Linked DNA regions of Homo sapiens: all the other regions are linked to region 1. The links are contacts of gene promoters, found by promoter capture Hi-C in blood cells and fetal thymus (Javierre and others, 2016). All regions are on one chromosome and are shown on one strand. Each heading gives the region's core, a stretch centred on a gene start or on the middle of the fragment in contact. The rest is flanking DNA. Distances are from core to core; before and after follow the strand shown. Region 1 holds the start of LLPH (LLP homolog, long-term synaptic facilitation factor). Region 2 has its middle 4.0 kb from the start of C12orf56. Region 3 has its middle 27 kb from the start of GNS. Region 4 overlaps LINC02389 (long intergenic non-protein coding RNA 2389).

Region 1 (3,354 bases), core at 539-3,038:
TTGCTATCTCTTGAACATCTTTCATTAAAACATCACCGTCTAGTTTGAGAATACTTTTAAGCCTGCTGGCCTCCTTTGGGGCATTCTTTTTTCTCTTTTCAGCACGCATCTTTCTTTTCCACTTACTCCGTAAGCTTTTAGCCATGTTTTACCTGAAGTTAACAAAAACACACATTCAAAAGCAAATCTTTAATATAAAAAAGAAAACAGGCAAATCCTTAGAAAACCAGGCCAACAGGTATCTCTACAAAACAAGTGAAAAGTAAAACTCTTCAATCTGTTCACTTTTTAGGACTTAACATGCAACTTATATGAAGATCAACATGGTACATACACAGTCACTAAATAACAAGATATCAAATCAAACTTGTGGTCATAAGCAAACTACAAATCAAACCAATTCTGAAAGCACCTTGCATGTCTTTTTTCTTTTTTTTTTTTTGAGACAGAGTCTTGTTCTGTGTCCCAGGCTGGAGTGCAGTGGCGCGATCTCAGCTCACTGCAACCTCCACCTCTCAGGTTCACGCCATTCTCCTGCCTCAGCCTCCCGAGCAGCTGGGACTACAGGCGCCCGCCACCACGCCTGGCTAATTTTTTGTATTTTTAGTAGAGACGGGTTTTCACCGTGTTAGCCAGGATAGTCTCGATCTCCTGACATTGTGATCCGCCCGCCTCGGCCTCCCAAAGTGCTGGGATTACAGGCTTGAGCCACCGCGCCCGGCTGAATTTCTTTACAAAATACAGAAATTTAATTTCCCCAGAATGCAACAGCGTCATCACCTTACATTTATGCAACAGCTTACAAATTACAAATGATTTTTATAAACACTTCACCTCATCTTCATTATCCATCCTCTCAAGCCAACTTAACGACTGTAAACTTATCTATTCCTACTCTTGTTTTCTTTCCACTCAGTTCCGCCCTAAATCCTCCACAAGGTGCTCAGTGTGATCTTTTAAAAAAGCATTCACTGCCTTTCTTCGAGTTCTTTAAAGACCTCCTCCCTCATATATATTCAAGATCTACAAGGTCATTTGTGATCTGTCCCCTGCCTCCTTCAACTCTATTTCATTTCATTCTCCATCCCCATCCCCGCAGGCACCAACTACGTCTGTAAAGAGTCCAAACTATCTCTACGTCAGTGCCTTCATATTTGCTGTCCCTATGCCTGGCAACTGCTCTTCTCAAGGCTTGCTCCTTCATTCGCTACCTCAGAAAGGACTCCTCTGACCTCCGTAAGCTCCCTTCCCTGCTTATTAAGTGTTACAACCTGAAACCATTGTTTTCTGTCACGCCCCCCGACCCTCTCCCCAGACTGTAGACTCCACGAAGGTAGAGGGAAAGGTCTTGTTCACTGCTGAATCGCACACTTTTTGCATACTTGTTGAACGAACCACTAACATTTTTTGAACGCCGGCAATCACAGTCATTCCGCTCCCTTGTCTACATAACTCAACCCTTGCGAGGGGCTAGGAAAGCGGGCGGCAAACAACCTTGAGGGCCGAAGTTAACTTCAGCGGGAGTGAACGACAGGGGTGGGCTCCACTTTATCCAGTGCACTCGGAAGCCGGAGGGCCCCCACCAAAAAGAGCAAGGGGAACCCTCGCCCTCAACAAGGCCTGCATCTCCGGACTGGAGCTCAAGTATAGCCCAGCGAGTGTCAAGAAACGAAATTCTCCAAGGGTGGCGGAATCAAGCCCCAAGTCCCATGTGTCACTGGACCGGTGAGGAACCGAACTCACCTGAGAAACGAACACCCACACCTCACGCTCACGCCGACCGGAAGTCTTTGCACTTCCGTCTTCCGGGCGGAGGCCACCCGGGGCGGACGCATTGCACGCCGGGAGACAAAATGTCTCAAGAAGCCTTGAGAGGCGGGATTTTGGAACCCGGGCGCTGACGAGCTTCCGCCATTGGTGTGATCGCGGACCTAGAAACTTGGTCCGTCCCATACAGGTGTAGAAGTCGGATTTGGAGAATGCTGACGGGTGTCCGGTCAAGGTTAGGCCCCAGGTAGGTCCGCTTTCCGGACGTGGGCAGGGTAGCCCCGAGACTAACCTATGGAGTGAACCTGGCCAGGGGACCCTACTTGTCAGATAGGGAGCTCCGAGCCGACCTTTAGATCTGACCTCAGCGTTTACATGATACTCATGTATTTCCTTAGATCAAGTCAGCCTAGATCAGGTGTTCTTCCAGAGGCCGTATTGAGATCATTTTTATTTGCAGCCTGTGCATTTTCTCATCTCGGGTGATGGCCTCACAGATGTACACATATGTAAAACCGTATCAAACTGCACACTTTAAATATGTGCAACTTATTGCATGTCAGTTATACTCAAAGCGGTTACCAAAAACAGAAAACAAGCTTTTCCTACCCCAGAGAAGAATTTAAAGGGTAAAATGATCAAAGGATTTCAGTTCTATCAATGTTTACCTGTCTGATCACTTACGTATCAGACACAATGCTAAGCCTAGGACGATTGTCTTAGCTCACGAATAACACTTACTGTACAACTATTTCTACTGGCATAGGCTTTGGAACCATATAGGTCTGTGTTGTACTCTTGCTTCCAACACTTGTGAACGATATGGGTGAGTAATTAATGTCATAAGGGCCTGAATTTCCTTGTCCCTAAAGTGAACATAATACAACCTAATTGATGCTGTAAGAGTTCAACAAATGGTACCCTTTTTACATTATAGTTTCAAAAGTATAGCTACACAGTACTATTTGTAAGCAATGTTTCTAGAGATTTACGACATATACCCAAAAAACATGTCTTTAATGATGGCCTGGTAAACTCCTGCTGGTTGCCAGAAAAAGGGGTTCTGAGGCAATCTATGGGTACCTTTTTTCTTTAAATTTGTGTCCTTTATGAAACCATGCATAGTATGGAAATTACTGAATTCAGAATATAGCAAGGTTAAAGAGGCTGAAAAAAACCTAGAACATTTGATATAAAAAAAGGAAGCATGCCTAAGAAACCTGGTTTATTTAAATGAGATTTCGTTCTTATAAAGCAAGTGAATTTCTGTTTTACAAGTTAACCATATACTGTACCTCATCTTTCAAATGAGAAGTTAGCTACCTCACCCAAAAATATAAGTGCACATTGCATTTTAGAGAAAACTTATATTCTGATAGTCCATATTTACTGTATCTTGTTTAACATACCAGGACAAGACTTTTGAATAGGCACTTGGCACCAGAAAAAATAATTTACCTATTATGAAAATGTCATGTTGTTAAAATACCATGCCATGATTTAGCATTACAAGTGCTTTAAACAGCTGAGTAAAACACCCTTTTACTCCTTTTTACTTATGTCCCCTCACCAGTTATATAAAAGCAG
Region 2 (3,354 bases), core at 461-2,960, 1.7 Mb before region 1:
CACATGCCTGTAATCCTGGCTACTCGGGAGGCTGAGGCAGGAGAATTGCTTGAACCCGGGAGGTGGAGGTTGCAGTGAGCTGAGATTGCCCTACTCCACTCTGGCCTGGGCAACAGAGCAAGACTCTGTATCTAAAATTAAAAAATAAATAAATAAATAAAATGAAGCACAGAAAGAAGGGAATTTGACTGGGAGATTGGTGATCAAGGTGACTTCAGTTAAACTTTTAACTTCGTGGCACACAGAGAAGGCAATACAATGGTTTCCAGGCACTGTACAGCAGTGTTGCCAAGGTAACAGCAAAATTTCTATTGCAGGAAATGGATTTAAATATATAGGAAAGATCACTAGATTTGGAGTCAGGAGAACTAGATAAGGGCACTAACTCTGTTATCTATCAGACTTTTGGAAAGTCACAACCTTTCCGAGCCTCAGTTTCATCATCTATAAAATGTGAGGATCAAATGTGATGAATTATAGACTCTATGAGCACTACAGACATATGAAGCATTCACATTCCCTTATCTTTTGGTAAGCTTTACATCAATCCATGGCCCATAGGCCACCTGCAGCCCAGGAAGGCTTTAAATGTGGCCCAACACAAATTCATAAATGTCTTAAAACATTATGAGATTTTTTTGCGATTTTTTTTTTTTTTTTTAGCTCATCAGCTATCATTAGTGTTAGTATATTTTATATGTGGCCCAAGACAATTCTTCTTCTTCCAATGTGGCCCAGGGAAGTCAAAAGCCTGGATACCCCTGTTTTACATGGTTAACCCAAATGCACCAAAGATAGGTACCCCCTCCTTATCTTGTAAGTTCATCCAAACTCAAGAAACATTTGGCAAAGGAACTCCTGCAATCAAGCACTTAATAGATGTTTCTTGACAAAATTATCAAAAGGAATGGGACATTACTTACCTGGACTAATCCTCAAATGCAGTCTCCTTGAATTTCATCAGAACAGTGGTCTTAGGTACAGGGATGGTCAATTTAAATAATTCGAAGCACAGTAGTTATGAGCATAGAACTGTAGAGCCAGATGACCTGGGTTCAAATTCCAGCTCTCCTATTCAGTAGCTGAATGACCTATGCCTCAGTTTCCCCATCTATGAAATGGAGATAATAGTACCAACCCCCAAAGGGTTATTACGAGGATTTAAAAAGTTTCAATAGTACCTAGAACAGGAACCTGGACTGGAGTAAATACTATATAAGCGTCTAAAGAACAAGTTGACTGGGCATGGTGGCTCACACCTGTAATCCCGGCACTCTGGGAGGCCCAGGTGGGTGGATCACATGAGGTCAGGAGTCCGAGACCAGCCTGGACAGCATGGTGAAACCCCATCTCTACCAAAAAATACAAAAATTAGCCAGCGTGGTGGCGGGCACCTGTAGTCCCAGCTACCTGGGAGGCTGAGGCACAAGAATCACTTGAACCCGGGAGGCAGAGGTTGCAGTGAGCCAAGATGGCACCACTGCACTCCAGCCTGGGCAACAGAGTGAGACTCTGTCTTAAAAAATAAAGAAAGAAAGAAAGAATAAGTTCAACAAGTATGTGATTTCCTGTTACATATGTGGTCGTTCTGCTCCCTATCTACAAGGTAATATTAAATTCTTCTGATTGGATACAAGTCTAACTTTCTGAGATTGACCCAAGGCAAATTTTACCTTTTTTGGGTCACATTTTTAGTGGAGAAGAGACCAGCAGGTTAGGCCATGAGAACCATGTAAGGATTCCAAACTAGAAGTACTCTTCAATGCTTCTAGGGATCCCAAGTATTCCCATTCCCCCCACTTGAAACTAAAGACAGACAGTACACACAGTAAGATATTTAGAATATGTGGCCTATAAATAGAACCTGACCTTTTTTTTTTTTTCTTGAGAAGGAGTTTCACTCTATCACCCAGGCTGGAGTGCAGTGGCGCAATCTCGGCTCACTGCAACCTCCACCTCCCGGGTTCAAGCAATTCTCCTGCCTCAGCCTCCCAAGTAGCTGGGATTACAGGCATGCACCACCATGCCCGGCTAATTTTGTATTTTTAGTAGAGACGGGGTTTCTCCATGTTGAGGCTGGTCTCGAACTCCTGACCTCAGGTGATCCGCCTGCCTTAGCCTCCCAAAGTGCTGGGATTACAGGCATGAGCCGCCACACCCAGCCCTAAACCTGACTTTTTAAAGGTGTCTCATTTAGGAATCTCTTAGTGCTTCAACTTAGTTGTTTTTTTTGTTGTTGTTGTTGTTGCTTGTTTTTTGTTGTTGTTGTTTTTGTTTTGTTTTGTTTTGTTTGAGACAGAGTTTCGCTCTTGTTGCCCAGGCTGGAGTGCAATGGTGCGATCTTGGCTCACTGCAACCTCTGGCTCACCGCAACCTCTGCCTCCCAGGTTCAAGCAATTCTCCTACCTCAGCCGCACAAGTAGCTGGGATTACAAGCATGCACCACCACACCTAGCTAATTTTTGTATTTTTAGTAGAGACAAGGTTTCTCCATGTTGGTCAGGCTGGTCTTGAACTCCCCACCTCAGGTGATCCACCTGCCTTGGCCCCCAAAGTGCTAGGATTACAGGCGTGAGCCACCGCGCCCAGCCCTATACTTATTATTAATGGATACTGATCATTTAAATATCTACTATTAGTAATCTACTATTAGTAATTAGATGACATACAAAGGAAAGATGTCATTGTTATAAAAACCAGACAAATGATTTGGATTAATGTTTTCTTTCACTGAATAATACTCCAATGCTCTATTTTGCCTCTCAGGCTTCCTGCTGCACATGTACTTCCTGTAAGAGGAACTAATGGTTGGAATAGGACCAATAAAGGCAGCATTCCTGACCTGTTTTCCAACTTCTTTCTCTGCCAAGAAGCCCATTATGCATAAGCTTTTAGTGACAATGACATTCGGCTTTAAGAACAATGAGATGAAACACACAGAGAATCTGACACAGAACTCAGCAGCTATCAGCTCGTAATTATGTTCTTTTTGGTTCAACTCAATACATTTCACAAATATTTACTGAGAAATATTTATTAGCCATAAACAGAATCAGGATAACACTTACTTTCAATCTTTAAAAATTGTCTAGTTTTGGCCGGGCATGGTGGCTCACACCTGTAATCTCAACATCTTGGAAGGCCGAGACAGGTGGACCATGAGGTCAAGAGATCGAGACCATCTTGGCCAACATGGTGAAACTCCGTCTCTATTAAAAATACAAAAATTAGCTGGGCGTGGTGGTGCACCAGCTACTCAGGAGGCCGAGGCAGGAGAACTGCTTGAACCAGAAGGCGGAGGTTGCCGTGAGCCAAGATCGCACCACCACACTCCAGCCTGGTGACAGAGCGAAA
Region 3 (3,354 bases), core at 321-2,820, 1.3 Mb before region 1:
CACTTCCTTGCCTAAAAATCACTCAGAGAGTTGGCTGATCCAAAAGCAGTCCTTTTTAACTCAGGGCCAAATGCATTTTCCATGGTGAGGTCAGGTTTGAGAACCCTGCATTTGTTTGTTACAGACCCCAAAAGTTGACTTTGATCTCTAGAGTGCATTTCTACTTTTGAGCATTTATTTTCTTCTCTTCTGATTCTCTTTAGTTTCTCCATATCCCTTTAAAAATGAGTAGATCCAAACCCCACAGAGAACCTCTAATGGGGGGCTAGCTAAGGTTAAGTTGAGTGGAAGGCTTTGCCTGCCTACTAGATCATGCTCTAGTGACTAATCATATCAAATGTGACCAAAAAAAACCTCCTCCCAAATCGTAATGATCATTTATATAAAGACAGTAGACAATTCTGGTTCCCAAATTTGTTTTGACCTATAGAAAAACTGCTGTTAAGGGGAGGGAGAGCATTAGAACAAATACCTAATGCATGTGGGGCTTAAAACCTAGGTGATGGGTTGATGGGTGCAGCAAACCACCATGGCACATGTATACCTGTAACAAACCTGCATACTCTGCACATGTATCCTGGAACTTAAAGTAAAATAAAGTAAAAAAAAAAAAACTGCTGTTGTGAATATTAGTTTTATGAATGTAGAATTATTGTAATTTATCTGTGTAAAGGAAATTTATTTTCTACCATATTTGAAAAATTGCTGAGGCTCTAAGATGAAATATTGTACCTCTAAGACAAAATGTTTTTAGGCTATTGGAAGACTGGATATTCAAAACAAAATCAGTATTGCCACATTCATCTACATTACAAAATGTGGTAAAATTATTTACTTTTAGCTCATCATTTGTAAACATAGATGAGTACTTTAAAGACTTTTTTTTTTTTTTTTTCTTTGAGACGGAGTTTCGCTCTTGTTGCCCAGGCTGGAGTGCAATGGCGCGATCTTGGCTCACTGCAGCCTCCTCCTCTCGGGTTCAAGCAATTCTGCCTCAGCTTCTGGAGTAGCTGGGATTACAGGCATGTGCCACCACTCCCAGTTAATTTTGTATTTTTAGTAGAGATGGGGTTTCTCCATGTTGGTCAGGCTGGTCTCCAACTCCTGACCTCAGGTAATCTGCCCTCCTTGGCCTCCCAAAGTGCTGGGATTACAGGTGTGAGCCACCACGCCTGGCCTTTAAAGACTTTTTTTTTTTTTTAATTAGCTGTTAGGTTTATTATTAATGTAACAGACTAAAAAAGATTCTTTTCTAGCAAGCTTACCATCTGAACACTTCAGTGGTACAAAATATACATGCCAGTTTTCAGGCAATGAAAAGTAAATTTGCAGCCAGAGCTAGATATGGTAAAAGTAGGAGTTTTTGCTCCATGTTACAGATAGGCTTAAGGATAAATTTACCTTACAGTATCTGTCTCATGGACAGGGCAGATAAATGAGTGACTTATTTGATCGGAATGTCCGAGCTGAATGCATACATGTAATCTTGAGTGAAAACCTAGAATTAGTTGGTTTAAATGGATGTTCTATTTATCTTTGGACTAATATCACACTGGAATTTGTATTCCTCTCAAGGTATTAATCGTTATTCTTATTTTTCTTTACTGATAGACGCTAATGAACTGAAGACGATCCTTCGAGAGCTAAAGTACAGAATTGGCATCCAGTCGGCCAAGTTACTTCGGCATCTGAAGCAGAAAGATAGGCTTCTGCATAAAGTGCAGAGGAACTGTGATATTGTGACTGCCTGCTTGCAGGCTGTGTCACAGAAGAGAAGTAAGTACTGGAATTGGGTTACTTCTTTTGCCACATGCAACTAGAATGTTAGGAAAGCTGAGCCAACAGTCTGTGTTTGTGAATATATTGAGAAGTTTTAAATGCAAGCTTATACCCTCAGAACTAAGAACAAGGAACAACTCAGACAGTTTCCTATTTTTCAGTTAAAATGTATACTTCATGTCTAATGTTACAACCTTAGATTTATTATTCTAGATTTGAAGTAGTACTTTACTTTGACAATAATTTTACCTAATGCTGAATGATGATTACAATTTTATTTTATTTATTTATTTATTTATTTGAAACAGAGTCTCACTCCGTCACCCAGGCTGGAGTGCAGTGGCGTAATCTTGGCTGAATACAACCTCCGCCTCCCAGGTTCAGGCAATTCTCCTGTCTAAGCCTCCTGAGTAGCTGGAACTACAGGCGCCCGCCACCAGGCCTGGCTAATTTTTGTATTTTTAGTAGAGACGAGGTTTCACCTTGCTGGTCAGGCTGGTCAGGCTGATCTCAAACTCCTGATCTCAGGTGATTCACCCTTCTTGGCCTCCCAAAGTGCTGGGATTACAGGCGTGAGCCCCTGCGCCTGGACAAATTTTTATTTTTAAAACAGCATCACTGGCTGGGTGTGGTGGCTCACACCTATAATCCCAGCACTTTTGGAGGCCGAGGCTGGTGGATCACCTGAGGTCAGGTGTTTGAGACCAGCCTGGCCAACATGGTGAAACCCCATCTCTACTAAAAATTAGCTGGTCGTGGTGGCTGGCACCTGTAGTCCCAGCTACTCAGGAGGTTGAGGCAGGAGAATCACTTGAACCTGGGAGGCAGAGGTTGCAGTGAACCGAGATCGCACCATTGCACTCCAGCCTGGGCGACAAGAGCGAAACTCCATCTCAAAAAAAAAATAAATAAATAAAAATAAAAATAAATAAATAAAACAGCATCACACAGACATAACCTAAAAGGCATGTCCTTTTTCTCTTATTCTGTGTTGCTACAGTAAGTGAATTAAATAATTGATTTAAAGAAATCGATTCTTGTAACAGGACCTTAACAACTTGCTCTGAAATCTGAAGATGGCAACATAGTTTAGCAAATGTAACCTATCTCTTGCATAATCATAACTAAGAGCTGTGTGGGAGCTGTGTGGTTTGTTAATCAATTAAAAATAAATTGTTAAATTGCTGATACACATTAAATACTAGGTATAAAACCTTGTGAATTAATTTTAAAATTCTCCATGCAATAGCCTTATGTTTTATTCTGCTAACATTTAACTATTTTTGTTTTGCATTCTTTATTAACATGCAGCATGGCAGAACAGTATGCTCAGGTATGGTAAATATAGGTACAATGATGTTTTTGATAAAATGCCTGTGACAGCTTTTCAGGCGATTGTGGAAGTTGCCTTTTGTTGCTCTTTCACTCTGTCACATTTTGTACGTAAATTGACACCTCCTAGAGTGCTTTTTTTTCAAAATTGCAAATTAAGATGTGTTTGCTTTCATGAAACAATTTTTGGGGTTTGATTAGTTTCTGGTAATGAAATTAATCGCTTAAATTTCATTCTTATGT
Region 4 (3,354 bases), core at 407-2,906, 1.2 Mb before region 1:
GTTATATCACAATAATAAACATTACTAATGGCAATCCTAGGCATCATGTAGCTCAATGATTTTCAAAGGTTTTTAAGGAGCAGAACATTATAAAATTATTGTTTAGACTTGTACTTTAAGTAGATAATATTTGCACAAGGTGAAAATTTAACATGTACGAAAAAGCACATAGGAAAACTAGGTCTCCCTCCACCCCTTGTCCCCTATCCACTCAAAGCTTCTACCCACAGGAAACCGATGTTACTCCTTTCTTTTGTATCCTTTCAGAGATGTTTTATGCATATTCAAGCACATTCTCACACACACACTTTCGTAAGCAGTAACACAATAACCTTCTGAACTTTCCTTTTTCACTATGTACCATGGAGATTGTTCCAGAACAGTGCAAGTAGAGCCACCTCGTTCTTTTTTACTGCTGCATAGATTTCCATTTCAGGTCTGTGCACAATACATTTATTCTCTAATCTATTATTAGATTATTTGTTTGCTTCCAATTTCATATCTATGGAATATGCATATCCTTGTACATATGATGTAATATTGCTAATAAGGAAGTTAGCTAAAGAATAAATTCTAAGACATGGAATTACTTGTCAACAATGCACATTTAAAATTTTGATACATGTTGCCAAATTGCTCTCCACAGATGTTCCATAAGTTTCTGCTTCCATCAGCAATGTAAGGAAGTGCCCAATTCCTCCTACCCCCACATTACTGAGAATCTTATCAAATTTTTTGATCTTTTCTGATTGGGTGAGTACTTAATGTATGTTTGAAAAATATGCATAAGGTTGACATATATTTAAAAGTTATTTATATGTCCTTTGTTCATAGGCTTTGCTCATTCTTGCTGTTTTTTTTCTTACTGGTTTTTTTTTTTTTTTTTTTGAGATGGAGTCTCACTCTGTTGCCCAGGCTGGAGTGCAGTGGTGCGATCTCGGCTCACTGCAAGCTCCGCCTCCCGGGTTCATGCCATTCTCCTGCCTCAGCCTCCCGTGTAGCTGGGACTACAGGTGCCCGCCACCACGCCTGGCTAATTTTTGTATTTTTTTTTTAGTAGAGATGGGGGTTTCACCATGTTAGCCAGGATGGTCTTGATCTCCTGACCTCGTGATCAGCCTGCCTCGGCCTCCCAGAGTGCTGGGATTAGAGGCATGAGCCACCACACCCAGCCTTTTTCTTACTGATTTGTGAGTTTTTTATGCGTTAAGAAAAACATCCTTGTCTGTAATCTGTGTCACAATATTTTTCTCATTTTGTCAATTATCTTTTGACTTTGTTCATGCTGATTTACTGACATGTATATAGATTTAAGGTCATTTTTATTTGGTCATATCTATTAATCTTTTCTATTATAGCTTCTGGGTTTTGTGTGATGTTTGGAAAGGCTCTCTCTACTTCTTTGTGGTTAAAGTTCTTTAATTTTTTCCTTCTACTAGTTTTATGGTTTCATTTTTTATGTTTAAATCTGACTCATTTGGAATTTACTTTTGTGTAAGTTGGGAACTAAGGTTCCATCTTAACATTTATTTTTTCCAAATAGTTACCTAGTGGTGCCGGCACCATTTATTAATCTTTCCCCTATTGATTAAAAATGCCACCTTTATAATCACATACTAAATCCCTGTATGTTTTAGGGTGAATATCTGGACTTTTGGAGTACAACTGAACCACTACCCTCATTCAGGTGGGGGCAGAGAGGCCAGAGCTCTGCACACTGGTTTCCTCTCTGGTTGCCAGCATTACCCCTGAAGTTGCTTTGGGGGAGATCTTGGGGTTCTGGGGAACAGAGTTTGGAAACTACCAGTCTGGACCACTCTTTTTTTTCACTGATGAAAATCTGTAGCTCGGTGTAATTAAGTGACTTAAAATAACATTCTGACATTGGCAAGTTGCCATATGTTCCCAATCCCCTAACCCCCACCATGTGCATGGAGTATATCATTGGTGTAGGAGGCTCACTGATATGAGAATCACAGGAGAGCCCACAGCTGCTGTTAGGGACTGCTATAGTGTCAGAAGGCCTCATCCATGTATTTGGGGGAAAGAATGTTCCAGAAAGAGGAAACAGCAAGTACAAAGTTTCTGAGCTACATATGTAGAGAGATATAGGTATAGGTATAGAAATAGTATAGATAATTTAGAAAGACAGAGATAGAGACAGACCTAGAGATTAGAATGTGCTTCAGCTAAGAATAGGACCATTTTTACTTAGCATGCTGTTCATAGTAATAAGTTGCTGTTATAATTTTCACAGCCAAAAATCCATACATGATGTTATTTGTATTGTTTATGTTGTTTTATATATTATTTTTATTTATGCTTATATTTTCACAGCCCTCCTAAATTGAGTGGAATGATTGCAAAGTGTTTCCAATAAATGAGGATACTCCACCCCTTACCCTCCAAAAGTCTTCTCTTCAATTTGGGTTTGGTGCCAGCAATTTAGTCTTGACTGATACAATAACATTTCAAATTTCTAGAAATAGTTGGGGGAGGGGAAGACTAGCCTGTGTTGTAGAGCTTTGAAGAGATAAAAATAGCTTTGCACCTGATGCCTCTCCCTGAGAAAGTAGTCAGCCCCAGAGAGTCCCAGTTCCACCTTCTTTTGAAATTATCTTAGAGGTAACCAATGGATCCCCTCCAGGAGGGACTGTCCATCCCCACCAGGTGCAGAGAATGAACCACTCCTTAAGTTTGCCTGGTAAATGGTTTGGAGTGTCACTGCTAGACATGGTGGCTGTGATGTCACTACTGTGTGTATCTTGAAAGGTCAATAAAGAATGAGTAAAACATTTGAAGAGGTTCTTATTCAACAACAATATTTGTTTAAAGGCTTGCCAAAAACACAAAACAAAGCCTTAAACCCCAAACCTTTAATAGTATAAAAATAACAAGGCTTAAGTCATAAACATTGGATTTCCAGAATTTAAAAAGATAATTTTTGAAAAAGGAATTACATCAAGAAAATTTTTTTTGAATTGACTGTCTTCTAAAACAAATTAAAAAAACAAAAACAAGAAAAGCAATTAAAAAAAACAGTTGCTAATGTTCAATCCGGAGAAATGGATGGATTCCAGTATTTTATTCACAAACAAGCTTCATCCAAATGGCAGAACAACAGGGGTCTGGCTTCTGCATGGCTCAGGCCTGAGTTTCTGAACCGGAGGGTATATGGTGAGGTTGGGATTAAGGGTTTTCCTGCCTCATTTAATTAGGGCCTAGTCACAGTTGCACCAGCAGTTGTTTTCACATCCAATTCTGTTGGCCTTATAGTCTGGGAAAATTCTCCCAACTCCAACAATGAACTGACTTGGAACTTGAGACTCTGCGGTGCTGATATTGACATCAGAA

Evidence for each region. Contacts are between HindIII fragments. The CHiCAGO score rates a contact against its expected background, and 5 or more counts as called.
Region 2: a contact is called between a fragment that was not itself captured here and the fragment with the promoter of LLPH in region 1, in 1 of 17 cell types (activated CD4 T cells). The highest score is 5.9, in activated CD4 T cells.
Region 3: a contact is called between a fragment that was not itself captured here and the fragment with the promoter of LLPH in region 1, in 1 of 17 cell types (activated CD4 T cells). The highest score is 7.9, in activated CD4 T cells.
Region 4: a fragment that was not itself captured here is called in contact with the fragment with the promoter of LLPH in region 1 in 1 of 17 cell types (activated CD4 T cells); the score reaches 7.2 in activated CD4 T cells.

What each region holds. Positions count from the first base shown.
Region 1 is chr12:66,128,962-66,132,315 of GRCh38, forward strand. LLPH (LLP homolog, long-term synaptic facilitation factor) reads right to left here and starts at 1,789. Exons shown (of 3, transcript NM_032338.4): 1 at 1,744-1,789; 2 at 1-152. The coding sequence starts at 145. LLPH-DT (LLPH divergent transcript) reads left to right here and starts at 1,790. Exons shown (of 2, transcript NR_125724.1): 1 at 1,790-2,014. RefSeq lists enhancers at 1,513-1,662, 1,703-1,812. The HindIII fragment of the contact is 2,232 bases long and covers 133-2,364 here.
Region 2 is chr12:64,393,110-64,396,463 of GRCh38, forward strand. It overlaps the pseudogene RPS11P6. Among named protein-coding and RNA genes, the nearest start is that of C12orf56, 4.0 kb to the left of the region's middle. The HindIII fragment of the contact is 2,352 bases long and covers 535-2,886 here.
Region 3 is chr12:64,784,270-64,787,623 of GRCh38, forward strand. It overlaps a transcript of TBC1D30 not described here. Among named protein-coding and RNA genes, the nearest start is that of GNS, 27 kb to the left of the region's middle. The HindIII fragment of the contact is 624 bases long and covers 1,259-1,882 here.
Region 4 is chr12:64,884,548-64,887,901 of GRCh38, forward strand. The region is part of intron 1 of LINC02389 (long intergenic non-protein coding RNA 2389); the gene reads left to right. Among named protein-coding and RNA genes, the nearest start is that of LINC02389, 2.5 kb to the left of the region's middle. The HindIII fragment of the contact is 2,882 bases long and covers 216-3,097 here.